2 separate regions of the Homo sapiens genome follow, and region 2 is linked to region 1. The links are contacts of gene promoters, found by promoter capture Hi-C in human tissues and cell types (Jung and others, 2019). All regions are on one chromosome and are shown on one strand. The core of a region is centred on a gene start or on the middle of the fragment in contact, and the rest is flanking DNA. Distances in the headings are between cores, read along the strand shown.

Region 1 (6,099 bases), core at 2,218-4,717:
CTTTAACTTCCTATAAATAACATCCTATGGTATGTACATGTAGAAGGCAGTTTCTATAATGGATCTCAATGATCCCCACCCGCTATGTTCACTCCCTTGTGTGATCTTTTCCCTTTGAATATGGAGTGGATCTAGGAACTTGCTTCTAATGCACAGAATGCAGCTAAAGTGATGGAATGGCCCTTCCGAGATCAGATTACAAGAGTGTGGCTTCTGCCTTCTCTCTCTGTCTGATTCTTCTCACTGGCTAGATCTGATGAAGCAAGCTGCTCTTGGGAGCTGCCCTGTGAGGAGGCCCACACAGCAAGGAACAAAGGAGGAGCAACCGGATCCTGCAACAAACAAGTGACTGGGCTGCTGTTTCCCCAGGTGAGCCTGGAGATGACGGCCACCTGGCTGGACTTTATTGCCACCTGTGAAAGACCTTGAGCTAGAGGATCCAGTTGATCCATGCCTGGATTCCTGACCCACAGAAATCATGAGATAATACATGGCATTGTTTAGGCAACTAAGTTTTGGGTTAATTTGTTATACAGAATAGATAACTAATGCAGTACTTTTCTGTGACTTCTTTTGCTTGACAAAATATGATTTATCCATGTTTTTGTGGGCAGAAGAGATATTCTCAAAGAGCTTATTAAAAGCATTAAACCTATTAAGATAGTCAAAAATTTCAGTATAAGAGAAAGCAGCAATACAGAGAGGTAAATTGAGCACTGAAGCCACATAAGCCCTGCATTTGCTGGACGGGGTGATGGGGAGCTTCAGTGGTGATGGTATGGGACAGAAATGAAGGTCAGGAAGAGTCTAATAGATGAACATTCCATAAGGCCGGGGTCCCAAAAGGTTTCTACATCCTCAGGGTAACCGTGGTCCAGAAGAAACATGCTCCCGGACTACAAGGAAATGCACCTTGGCACTGAGCAGAGGAGGTGGTGGTGGGTGGAGATGGCCAGAGAACCGTCCTATGGGTTTATCAACACAGGCCAGGGTGGGGTGTCATGGCAGACCAAATTCACTTCACCTGCATGGTTTAGAAAACTATGAATTTAGCCATGAATTTAATTTTCCAAATTGGAAGTTCCTCTAGGTATCTGGTAGAAGCAAAACCACCTCCTCTATGGAGGAATACAGCTTCATCAGAAAACCTCACAGAGAAATTTCCAAGCAAAATGGGATGTGCACAGGTGAAAATTATCAAGCACACAAGGAAACAGGGCACCATGAGTGAGACCTACCAGAGAGAGGAGACAGCAACAGAAAGGCTGATGTAGGTACTGGAATTGTTAAAGCCAGATCATAAGACAATTATGCTGAGGTAAAGAAAGTCAAAATTAAAAATATCTGCATGGAGCAGAGAACCATAAGAAGAAAAGCCTCAGTTTTGCAAAAAAGAAAAGGAACTTTTAGAAATGAAGTTAAGGTCATTAAAATAAAAACCACAATGGGCTGACTTAACAATGATCAGACACACCTGAAGAGATAATCAATGACCATGAAGGACAGAGTGAGCAGGTCGAATTTCTGACTAATCAGAGTCCTGAAACCATCTCTAAATACAGAGAAGGGAAAGACCAAAAACCACATAGAAAAACGGGCAGGAGAGAGAAAATTCACAAAGAAAACAGTGAAAATAGCTCTTAGGCTTAAGAAAATCTCTCCAACCTGGCTGATAAGATAATTTAAACTTAAAACAACATTGGATGCTACTTCTTACCTACTGGGTGGCAAAAGTCCCAAAGCTTGACAACATGCTTTACTGCTAAGGCAGTGGGAAAACGAACATGCTCACGTGTTGTTGGCGTGAATGCAAAATGAAGGCAAATCTGACAATATCTAGCATAAAGACGTATGAATCTATGTTCTGGCCAGCAATTCTGCTTCTAGGGTGAGCGCAAGGCTGTTGATTGCAGCACAGAGTGAGCTGAGAGTGAGCACAGGCAGAAATGAGAGAAGGCCAAGGACTGATCCTGTGGCCTCTGCAGGGATGACTTCAGTATCCTGGCTGCCCTTGCTTCAGTTGTCACACCCACCCTCCATCCCACCCCCAGAAGGACATCTTCCCTCAGCATCCAGTGGCCTTTTAAAAGCATAATTCAGAGTATAGAACTCTGTTTCCTAAATCTGTGCAATGGCTTCTGGTTGCTCTGAAAGTCCACACTCACCCGTAGGGCATGGCTCCTCCCTCCTGCTCTGGCCTTTTCCTCCCTTACTCTCTGTGGCCAGTCCCTCTGCTGTGTTGTCCTAGTGTTTTTTTTTTTTTTGAGATGGAGTCTTGCTCTGTCGCCCAGACTGGAGTGCAGTGGCACAATCTCAGCTCACTGCAACTTCCACCTCCCAGGTTCAAGCGATTCTCCTGCCTCAGCCTCCGAAGTAGTTAAGATTACAGGCATGCTCCACCACACCCAGCTAATTATTGTATTTTTAGTAGGTCTCAATCTCCTGACCTTGTGATCCGCCTGCCTCGGCCTCCCAAAGTGCTGGGATTACAGGCGTGAGCCACCATGCCTGTCCTGTCCTAGTTCTTATTCCTCAAATACGTGGATTTTTCTCACTTCAGGCATTGTACTAGCCGTTCCATTAGCCTGGAGGGGGAAACTCATCTTTGCGGAGCTGGCTCCTTTTCATTCAAATTTCAACTAAAAATGCCACCTCTTCATGGAATTCCTTCCTGAACACCCTCTCTGAAGCATTCCCTGAGTAGCTACTCAAACACATCATTCAATAGTGCTTTTTCATAGCACTGATGTTATCTTTTTTTTTTTTTTGAGACAGAATCTCACTCTGTCACCCAGGCTGGAGTGCAATGGCGTGATCTTGGCTCACTGCAACCTCCGCCTCCCAAGTTCAAGTGATTCTCCTGCCTCAGCCTCCCAAGTAGCTGGGATTACAGGTGCCCACCACCAGGCCTGGCTAATTTTTGTATTTTAAGTAGAGATGAGGTTTCACCATGTTGGCCAGGCTGGTCTTGAACTCTTGACTTCATGTGACCCGCCTGCCTTGGCTTCCCAAAATGTTGGGATTATGGGCGTGAGCCACTGCCCCATCTGATGTTATCTTATTTATCTGCTCATCATCTGTCCCTGCTACCAGAATCTAAGCTCCAAACCAGAGAGACCCTCTGTGGTCACTATTAACTTCCTAATGCCTTCAAGAGGGGACTCCACCTGGTAGGCAGTCAATACATAGTGCTAAATGTATGAATAATTGCCTTGGATTCTGCATCCTTTTTAACTTTCCCAAATTCAGGGAGAGAACTGTGGGCTGCCATTTTATATTTGTCCAGGCTTTGTTTTTTTCCCTTCATGTCCACCTTTTACTTTTTCACCAGCTCCTCCACAGTAACAAAAGCCTTATTCAAAGGCCTGTGAGTCAGAGGATTATGTAAAGAAGTTACTTTAATCTAGATGCCCCTGACTTGATGGAACACGTCCAGTGACTCCTGGAAGAAGATCTGGAGGTCTCCAGAGCAGCGTGGTCCCAGGAGGCATACACAGAGAGCCACGGCCAGGGCTGAAACAGTCTGTTGAGTGCAGCCATGGGGGACGTCCTGGAACAGTTCTTCATCCTCACAGGGCTGCTGGTGTGCCTGGCCTGCCTGGCGAAGTGCGTGAGATTCTCCAGATGTGTTTTACTGAACTACTGGAAAGTTTTGCCAAAGTCTTTCTTGCGGTCAATGGGACAGTGGGCAGGTAAGGGAGTGTTCCATCTCATGTTTTTTTGCTGCTGTTGTTCCTGCTTGTTACTATTATTATTATTTTTGAGACAGACACTTGCTCTGTCACCCAGGCTGGAGTGCAATGGCGCGATCTTGGCTCACTGCAACCTCCGCTTCCCGGGTTTAAGCAATTCTCCTGCCTCAGCCTCCCAAGTAGCTGGGATTATAGGCGCCTGTCACCACACCTGGCTAATGGTGTTTTTTTTTTTTTTTTGAGACAGAGTCTCACTCTGTTGCCCGGGCTGGAGTGCAGTAGTGCGATCTCTGCTCACTGCAACCTCTGCCTCCTGGGTTCAAGCAATTCTCCTGCCTCGGCCTCCCAAGTAGCTGGGATTACAGGCACACACTACTACGGCTGGCTAATTTTTTGTATTTTAGTAGAGACAGGGTTCCCCCATGTTGGCCAGGCTGGTCTCGAACTCCTGACCTCATGATTTGCCCACTTTAGCCTCTCAAAGTGCTGAGATTACAGGCGTGAGCCACCGCACCCAGCCAACGTTTTGTATTTTTAGTAGAGACAGGGTTTCACCCTGTTGGCTAGGCTGGTCTCAAACTCTTGACCTTGTGATTCACCCGACTCGGCCTCCCCAACGGCTGGGATGACAGGCGTGAGCCACCGCACCCAGCCCCTGCTTATTATTATTTATGTCTCAAAAGGGATATTGCATTTTTTTCTCTTTGAGAGCAAAGAAGTAATTCCTTTGGGTAATTTTAATTGGGGGGATTAGAAAAGTGTGAGTGAAATTAGAATGGTCTGCAACACAAGCTGTAGGGCATTAGGGGAACACTAGGGCAGAAGGCTACCCAGCCCTTGCTAAGCACTTATCCTCTCAACCCCATTAGATGAGTTTTCTTCTTTTGGGAGTTTCCTGCTAATACAAATAATAAATAATGCAGAAATTTCTGCATCCTCATCTCTAAATTTACAAAAAGCCCAGGGTGCTTTCACTTTACTAAAAGGTGTTTCCAAATTTTGAAATCTAAATAATTTTAACTCATTGTATTAAAAAAAGGATCCAAGTGTTTTTAAGAAATGAAGGTGTTACAAAATCAAGGCAACGCATAACTCTATGGAGCCATGTTTTCAGGATGGTATGGAATGGAATCTGGGTCTGGCTGGTGTCAATTAATGCTGCCTCCCCATGGGATTTATCTACTGGAACGCCCATGCAGAACTTCAGCCCTATGACTGAAGTTAAGGTGAAGAGCATGAGGCCATGGTTTCAGCATCTCCTTGAATATCTGAAATGCTAAAGTCTTTGCAGGGCCTTATATTTCAAATTTGGACACACACACACACACACACACACACACACAAAGAATCCAATGACAAAAATGATTAAGTGACTTTAGAGATATTATCTAGGCAAAATAGGAAAGATTCTAATATGCTTATAGGGCTGCCAGATAAAATACAGGATACCCAGTTAAATTTAAATTTCAGAAAAAAAGGAATACTTTTTTAGTATAACTCACATATGGCATGAGACATGCATTAAACAATTCATAATTTACCTTAATTTCAAATTTAAGTGGGCATTCTGTATCCTTATTTGCTAAACCTGGCAACCTTAAAAACTTAGCAATGGAAATTAAAAAAATTACCGTGTGAGAAATTGTTTGGGATGACAAATGGATTTTTGACTTCTGCGTCTTATATTTGCTGTGTGCGTGTGTGTGTGTGTGTGTGTGTGTGTGTGTGTGTGTGTGTGTGTCCTCTTGGGGTATTATGCTGTCAGGAGTGAACTTGCTTGAACTTGCTCAGCAGCTTGACCTGAGTGTTCTGGATTTAAATACCCCACTCCACACAGATTCAGATGCCCACGTGTGGGTGGACGTAGCACTCTGCACAGCTGCTGTCGTTTGTGTAGGGAAAGCCCTTCTAAAAACCTACATTCTAAAAGAAGTTCAAATGGGGACAGAGACTAAGAGCATTTGGTGACTCAAAGGAAAAACATGATCTTAACCTGTTTTTATGAGTCAAGATGGATAGAGTTACCTCTAGCAGGAGTAAAATATGTTTGGGCAGAGGCAGATATCAGGGAGATAATATATTTCAAGTAGGGGACAAAAAAGAAACGCAAGAACTAGAGGCTAAATTTTTAATTCCTCAGATAGAGTACCCTGAGCTCTGTGCTGGATTTCCTAATTCTTTTCTTAGTGTATATTCATAGACTCAGGGCCCCAAAGTCAGACAGCCTGGGTTCAAATCCTTGTGTCATCATTTTTAGCAGTGTGACCTTAATCAAGTTACGAACTTTTTCCCCTTGGCTTCCTCATTTATAAACTAAGGATAATGATGGTCCCTGCATTTTAGGTTTGTTTTGAACATTAAATGAGATGATGCATCTAAAACACTAGAAGCAGTACATGGCAAGAAG
Region 2 (6,099 bases), core at 2,633-5,132, 1.6 Mb after region 1:
GCATAGTGGCGGGCGCCTGTAGTCCCAGCTACTCGGGAGGCTGAGGCAGGAGAATGGCGTGAACCCGGGAGGTGGAACTTGCAGTTAGCCAAGATCGTCCCACTGGACTCCAGTCTGGGTGACAGAGCGAGACTCCGTCTTAAAATAAAATAAAATAAAATAAAATAAAATAAAATAAAATAAAATAAAATAACTGTAAAATTTCTAGAATGAAGGAGTACAGAGAACTTTACCCTGAAATATGGCTTCCTGGTATAATGAGTATTTTGAATTAAAGGCCCTTAGAGGTCAACAGACCTTTGATCCGGAAGAGACTTTCTCCTACCTTCATAAAGACTAGATGTACCCATCAGGAGAACAATTGTTGTTCCCTCCCCCTCCCTATTATCTTATTATCTGTTGCAGAAAACAAGACCAAGGCGGTAACTCATGCCTGTAATCCCAGCACTTCGGGAGGTCAAGGTGGGCAGATTGCTTGAGCCCAGGAATTCAAGACTAGCCTGGGCAATGTAGTAAGACCCCATCTCTACAAAAAAAATTTAAAAATTAGCAGGACATGATGGCATGCATCTGTAGACCCAGCTACTCAGAAGGCTGAGGTAAGAGGATCAGTTGAGCACAGGAGGTCAAGGCCAAGATTGTGCCATAGCACTCCAGCTGGGGTGACAAAGCAAGACCAAAAACAACCAAGAATGTACCCACACCTGAATAGGACCCAATCACACCTGAATAGAACTCATTCACAAGTTAATCTCTGTTCCTCTTTCCATTCATTCTCCCTAGTAATCATTTATTACCCCTCAACACAATCACCTATATTCCCATCTCCCCTCACCCCCCTGAAATAAGGCTATATAAATACATTGGCCCCAATGGCATATGGGGCCATCACTCTCTGATTCTCCCCTGTGTGCACATTAATACATTTTTATGCGCTTTCTCCAATTAGTCTGCCTTTTGTCAGTTGATTTGCTAGTAAATCTTCACAGAGTGAAGGGGAATCTTTCCCTTGGCTCTTACAAAAACACAGGAAAATGTCTTATGACCCTGGGCTAGGCAAAGTGTTTTTGTTTAGATCCAACACCAAAACACAGTACATAAAAGAAAAAAAATTGACAAATTTGACTTCATCAGGATTAAGAACTTCAGGTCAGGTGAGGTGACTCATATCTGTAATCCTAGCACTTTGGGAGGCTGAACTGGGAGGATTACTTGAGGCCAGGAGTTTGAGACCAGCCTGGGCAACATAGTGAGACCATATCTCTACAAAATTTTTTAAAAATTAGCTGGGTGTGGTGTCACACACCTACAGTCCCAGCTACTCAGGAGGTTGAGGTGGGAGGAATGATTCAGCCTGGGAAGTAGAGGCTGCAGTGAGATGAAGTCACATCACTGTACTCCAGCCTGGGCTACAGGGAGAGACCCTGTCTCAAAAAAAAAAAAAAAAAAAAAGATGAAAAACTTCATCTCTTCAAAAGACACTGTTAAGAGAATAAAAGGACAAGCCACAGAATGAGAGGAAATATTTATAAACCATATATTTGATAAAAGACTTGTATGCAGAATATGTAAAGAACTTTCAAAACTCAGTAAGAAAACAACCAACCCAATTTTTATTTATTTATTTATTTATTTATTTATTTATTTTATTTTATTTTTTTGAGATGGAGTCTCGCTCTGTCGCCCAGGCTGGAGTGCAGTGGCACGATCTCGGCTCACTGCAAGCTCTGCCTCCCGGGTTCACGCCATTCTCCTGCATCAGCCTCCCGAGTAGCTGGGACTACAGGTGCCCGCCACCACACCCAGCTAATTTTTTGTATTTTTAGTAGAGACAGGGTTTCACCATGTTAGCCAGGATGGTCTCGATCTCCTGACCTTGTGATCCACCCGCCTCGGCCTCCCAAAGTGCTGGGATTACAGGCATGAGCCACTGCGCCTGGCCCAACCAACCCATTTTTTTTAAATGGGCAAAAGATTTGAATGAACACTTCACCAAGGAAGCTACATAGCTGGGAAACAAGCACAGGAAAATAGGCTCAACATCGTTGTCATTATAGAAATGCAAATTAAAAATCACCATGAGAGGCTGGGCACAGTGGCTCGTGCCTGTAATCCCAACACTTTGGGAAGTCGAGGTGGGAGGATCACTCGAGCCCAAGAGGTCGAGCCCATGATTGCACCACTGCACTCCAGCCTGGGTGACAGAGTGAGATGCTATCTCACACACACACACACACACACACACACACACACACACACACACACACACAAAATCATAATGAGAACCACTACGACTGTTAAAATAAAAACTTAAGACATTAAATTTAAGAGTTTAATTGAGCAAAGAACGATTCATGAACTGTGTGGCCTCCTGAGCCAGAATAGGTCAGAATAACGCTGGTGGCTGCCACGTGATTGGAGAGGAATTATAGAAAAAGAAAATTGAGTGCAATTTGATAATTGGCACAAGAGTAGGTTATAGTCTGTTTACACATCCAGTTAAGTTATAGTTCACTATGTACAGAGGAAATTAAGGCCCAACTTAAACTATGTATGGAGGCAGCTTTAGGGTAACCTTAGTTAATACCTATTAGAATGGCTAAAATTAAATGACTAATCATACTAGGTGTTGGGAAGATATAGATCACCTGGGAACCTGTAACAATGGTCCCAGGCTAATGGGAATGTAAAATGGTCCAATGGCTTTGGAAAAGTTTGGCAGTTTCTGAAAACGTTCACCATATAGCAGCCTATGACCAGCCATTCCACTACTAGGTATTTTCCCAAAAGAAATGAAAGCATATGTCCACACAAAAACTTGTATACAAATGTCTGCTGCAGCTTTATGTGAAATAACCCCAACCTAGAAAAGGTCCAAATTTCTCAACGATAAACATAAACAGACTGTAGTATATCTGGATGATAGAATGCTACTTAGCAATAAAAAGGGAATAATTATTGATAACTCAAAACAACATAGATAAATCTCAATTATGCTTTGCGAAAGAGCAAAAAAAGAGTACATGTAGTATGATTCCATTTATATAAAATCCTAGAAAATACAAAGTAGTCTATGGTGACAAAAGCAGACCAGTTGTTGCCCGAGTCTGTGTGAGAGGGAAGGGGTGGAGGGAGAGATGACAAAATTACACGAGGAAATTTCTGGGGGCAATGGATAGATATTGCAGGGACCAAGGGAAAAAGCTCCCCTGCATCCTCTAAAAACTTGCTGAAAAATCAATTTATAAAAGGCAGACTAATACTAGAAACAGCATACAAATTTATCAACGTGCATGGAGGGAAAATCACAGAAAGATGACCCCAACCCCCACGGGTGCAGAAGCTTGTGTATCTCCTCGAGGTTACAGAGAGAACAGGGGATCTGAGGGTGGCCCACAGTGGGTTAAGATGGCAAGTCGGGGGGGCCAGGTGCGGTGGCTCACGCCTGTAATCCCAACAGTTTGGGAGGCTGAGGCGGGTGGATCACCTGCGATCAGGAGTTCGAGAGCAGCCTGGCCAACATGGTGAAACCCTGTCTCTACTAAAAATACAAAAATACCAAAAAAAAAAAATAGCTGGGCGTGGTGGCATGCACTTGTAGTCACAGCTACTCGGGAGGCTGAGACAGGAGAATCGCTTGAACCTAGGAGGTAAAGGTTGCAGTGAGCCGAGGTCACACCACTGCACTTCAGCACCTCAGCATGGGCAATAGAGCGAGACTCCGTCTCAAAAAAAAGAAAAGAAAAAAAAGATGACAAATCAGCTTATGGCAGGGGCAGAAGAGGAGGCCTGGCTCACAAAGATGGTCTCTATGGACGCAAACCTCCCCCAGCAAGACAGCTTTTCAGCTATTCTTGGATTTCTAGCCCTTTTGAATAGCCATCTTAAAATATGCCAAAAAGTATATTTTGGAGTGAAATATTTTCATTTCCTTCAATATACTTATTATTCTGATTGTGGTGGTAGTTCCATGGGTATAGACATGTGAAAACATACCAAAGTGTGTATTTTCAGTGTGTGCAGTTTCTTGTCTGTTAATTGCACCTTGATGAAGCTGTTTTGAAAAAGGAAGATCTTCTTAGGATTCCTCACTTCCTGTGACTCTCCCACAGCAGCTGGGGGAATGGGCCAAGAGCAGAATCTGGTGACAAAGTAGCCTTGGGTGGCTTGGTTGGCCACACACGCCACTGAAAGCACCTCTCCCAGGAATCCAGTCGCCTCCAGTGCCTGCTGAAGCAAGAAAACCCTCCAAAGGATGACTCCAGCTGTGTCTGCATCATAATTAAGGCTGCAAAAACCCAAAATGAATGAAGTCTCCCCAGCTAATGTGCCACTTCTAATTTAATCTAATTGGCCTCTGAAAGAGAGCCTTGGCCTGCCTCAGAGGCAAAATCTTCCAAATGAAGTGAATTTAAACTAATTTAAGCTAACTAATTACAAACTGGGGGGTATTGTCACAAGACAATTGTTATTGTTCTTTGATTGCTTGCTCAACTGGATTATTTGCTCATTACCTTCAGAGCTGTTGGGACTTTCATGGGGTGCCCCTTGCCGCACATCAATAAGGCATTCTACAAGGCAGCCTGGAGTGGAGGGTCCCCACACCAGATTGGCATGGGAGCGCTGAGGATTAGCTTGGCTTTCTGCGTGTTTGGAGAATCTTAAAGCAAATGCACAGCATGTGCTGCTCATTCAAATAACCTGCAGCTAACTACACCTCTTTTTGGAGACGTAAGTTTTTCTTTAGCTTCGGGATGTAGGTTATGAGTTTTGAGGTCATCTGTTGAACCAACCTCTTTATTGTTCAGTCGTTCTGACCTTGAGATGCAGCTCGTTATACCTGGGTAGAGATCTGAAGCAAAAGTGGGGAGAAAAAAAAGACCTGTATCCAAGCCTGTTTCTCAGCAGCTGTGTGAGGTAGCTGTGCTGCCACACCTCTCTGAGCCACAGGCAGAGATCTGGTGGAAAACGCATGAAATTTGCAGACCCATCTATCTGCTGCTTCTGGTTTGAGCTTCAGTTCCCTCCTCCCAGGCATGTTAAATTTAGCCTACAGCTGCCTCCTTACTTATTTTAAGTGTAACAAATGTTATGTTACATTTGGGACCTGTGTGGCTAAAGGCTTCTCTGCACAAAGGGAACTGTCACTTAACTGGATGTGAAAGGGGCTGTAACCTACTCTTGTGACAAGCAACCATACTTCAACCACTCACAGGTGGCCAAGTCTTCCAACTGTGTTCGAGTAAGGCCAACGCTGAGCTGTAGCCAATCAGGCTGTTTCTCTGCCTCACTTCTGTTTTCTGTGCTTCACTTTCCGTTCTCTGCCCGTAAAGACTCTCACCACACGGCAGCACCAGAGACGCTCTGAACCTCTTCTGGTCAGGGGGCTGCCTGATTCCCATATCATTCTTTGCTCAATTAAACTCTGTTAAATGTAGTTTGCCTCAGTTTTCCTTTTAACAGGCAGAAACTACCACCTCACAGAATTGCTATGAAGACTGAACATGGTCACTCTGTGAAAACATTTCATAAACTGTGTGTCGCTTGCGAATGCTGTTATTTTTCTCATCTGTAAAATAAAGGAATTCAACCAGGGGATTTGAATAGTTTCTGTATTCATTTCCTGTGGCTGCCATAACCAAGCACCACAAATCGGGTGGTTCATAGCCACAGAACTGTGTCCTCCTGCGGTTCTGGAAGCCGAGTCTGAAATGAAGGTGGCGGCAGGGCTGTCCTTCCTCTGACGGCTCAGGACGAGTCCTCTCCTGCCTCCTCCAGCTCCAGGCGCTCCTCAGCATGTGGCTGCTTCGCTGGGTCTCTGTCCCACCTCCACATCACCTTCTGCTCTGTGTGTTTCAAATCTCTCTCTGCCTTTCTCTTGTGAGGACACTTGTAATTGGGTTTAGGGCTCACCTGGGTAATTCAGGATGATCACATGGCAACAGCCTTCACTTGATTACATCTTCAAAGACCCCATTTCCCAAATAAGGCCACCATCCCAGATTCTGGGTGGACACTGTGGGCAGTGGCACCATATTCAGCCCACTGCAGCCCTCCTTAGCTCTGTGGTCCTATCTTCTTCTGGATGTTACCATTTGG

Evidence for each region. The method cuts DNA at HindIII sites, captures the fragments that hold promoters and counts their contacts. A contact is called where the count stands out against the background at its distance.
Region 2: a fragment that was not itself captured here is called in contact with the fragment with the promoter of HSD17B3 in region 1 in 1 of the 25 tissues and cell types used here (dorsolateral prefrontal cortex).

The regions. Positions count from the first base shown.
Region 1 is chr9:96,299,544-96,305,642 of GRCh38, reverse strand. It overlaps HSD17B3 (hydroxysteroid 17-beta dehydrogenase 3), which reads left to right and starts at 3,467. Exons shown (of 11, transcript NM_000197.2): 1 at 3,467-3,692. The coding sequence starts at 3,539. SLC35D2-HSD17B3 (SLC35D2-HSD17B3 readthrough) reads left to right here. Exons shown (of 26, transcript NR_182427.1): 15 at 252-369; 16 at 3,332-3,692. The HindIII fragment of the contact is 9,231 bases long and covers 658-6,099 here.
Region 2 is chr9:94,655,568-94,661,666 of GRCh38, reverse strand. No RefSeq gene overlaps it. Among named protein-coding and RNA genes, the nearest start is that of FBP1, 19 kb to the right of the region's middle. The HindIII fragment of the contact is 7,157 bases long and covers 304-6,099 here.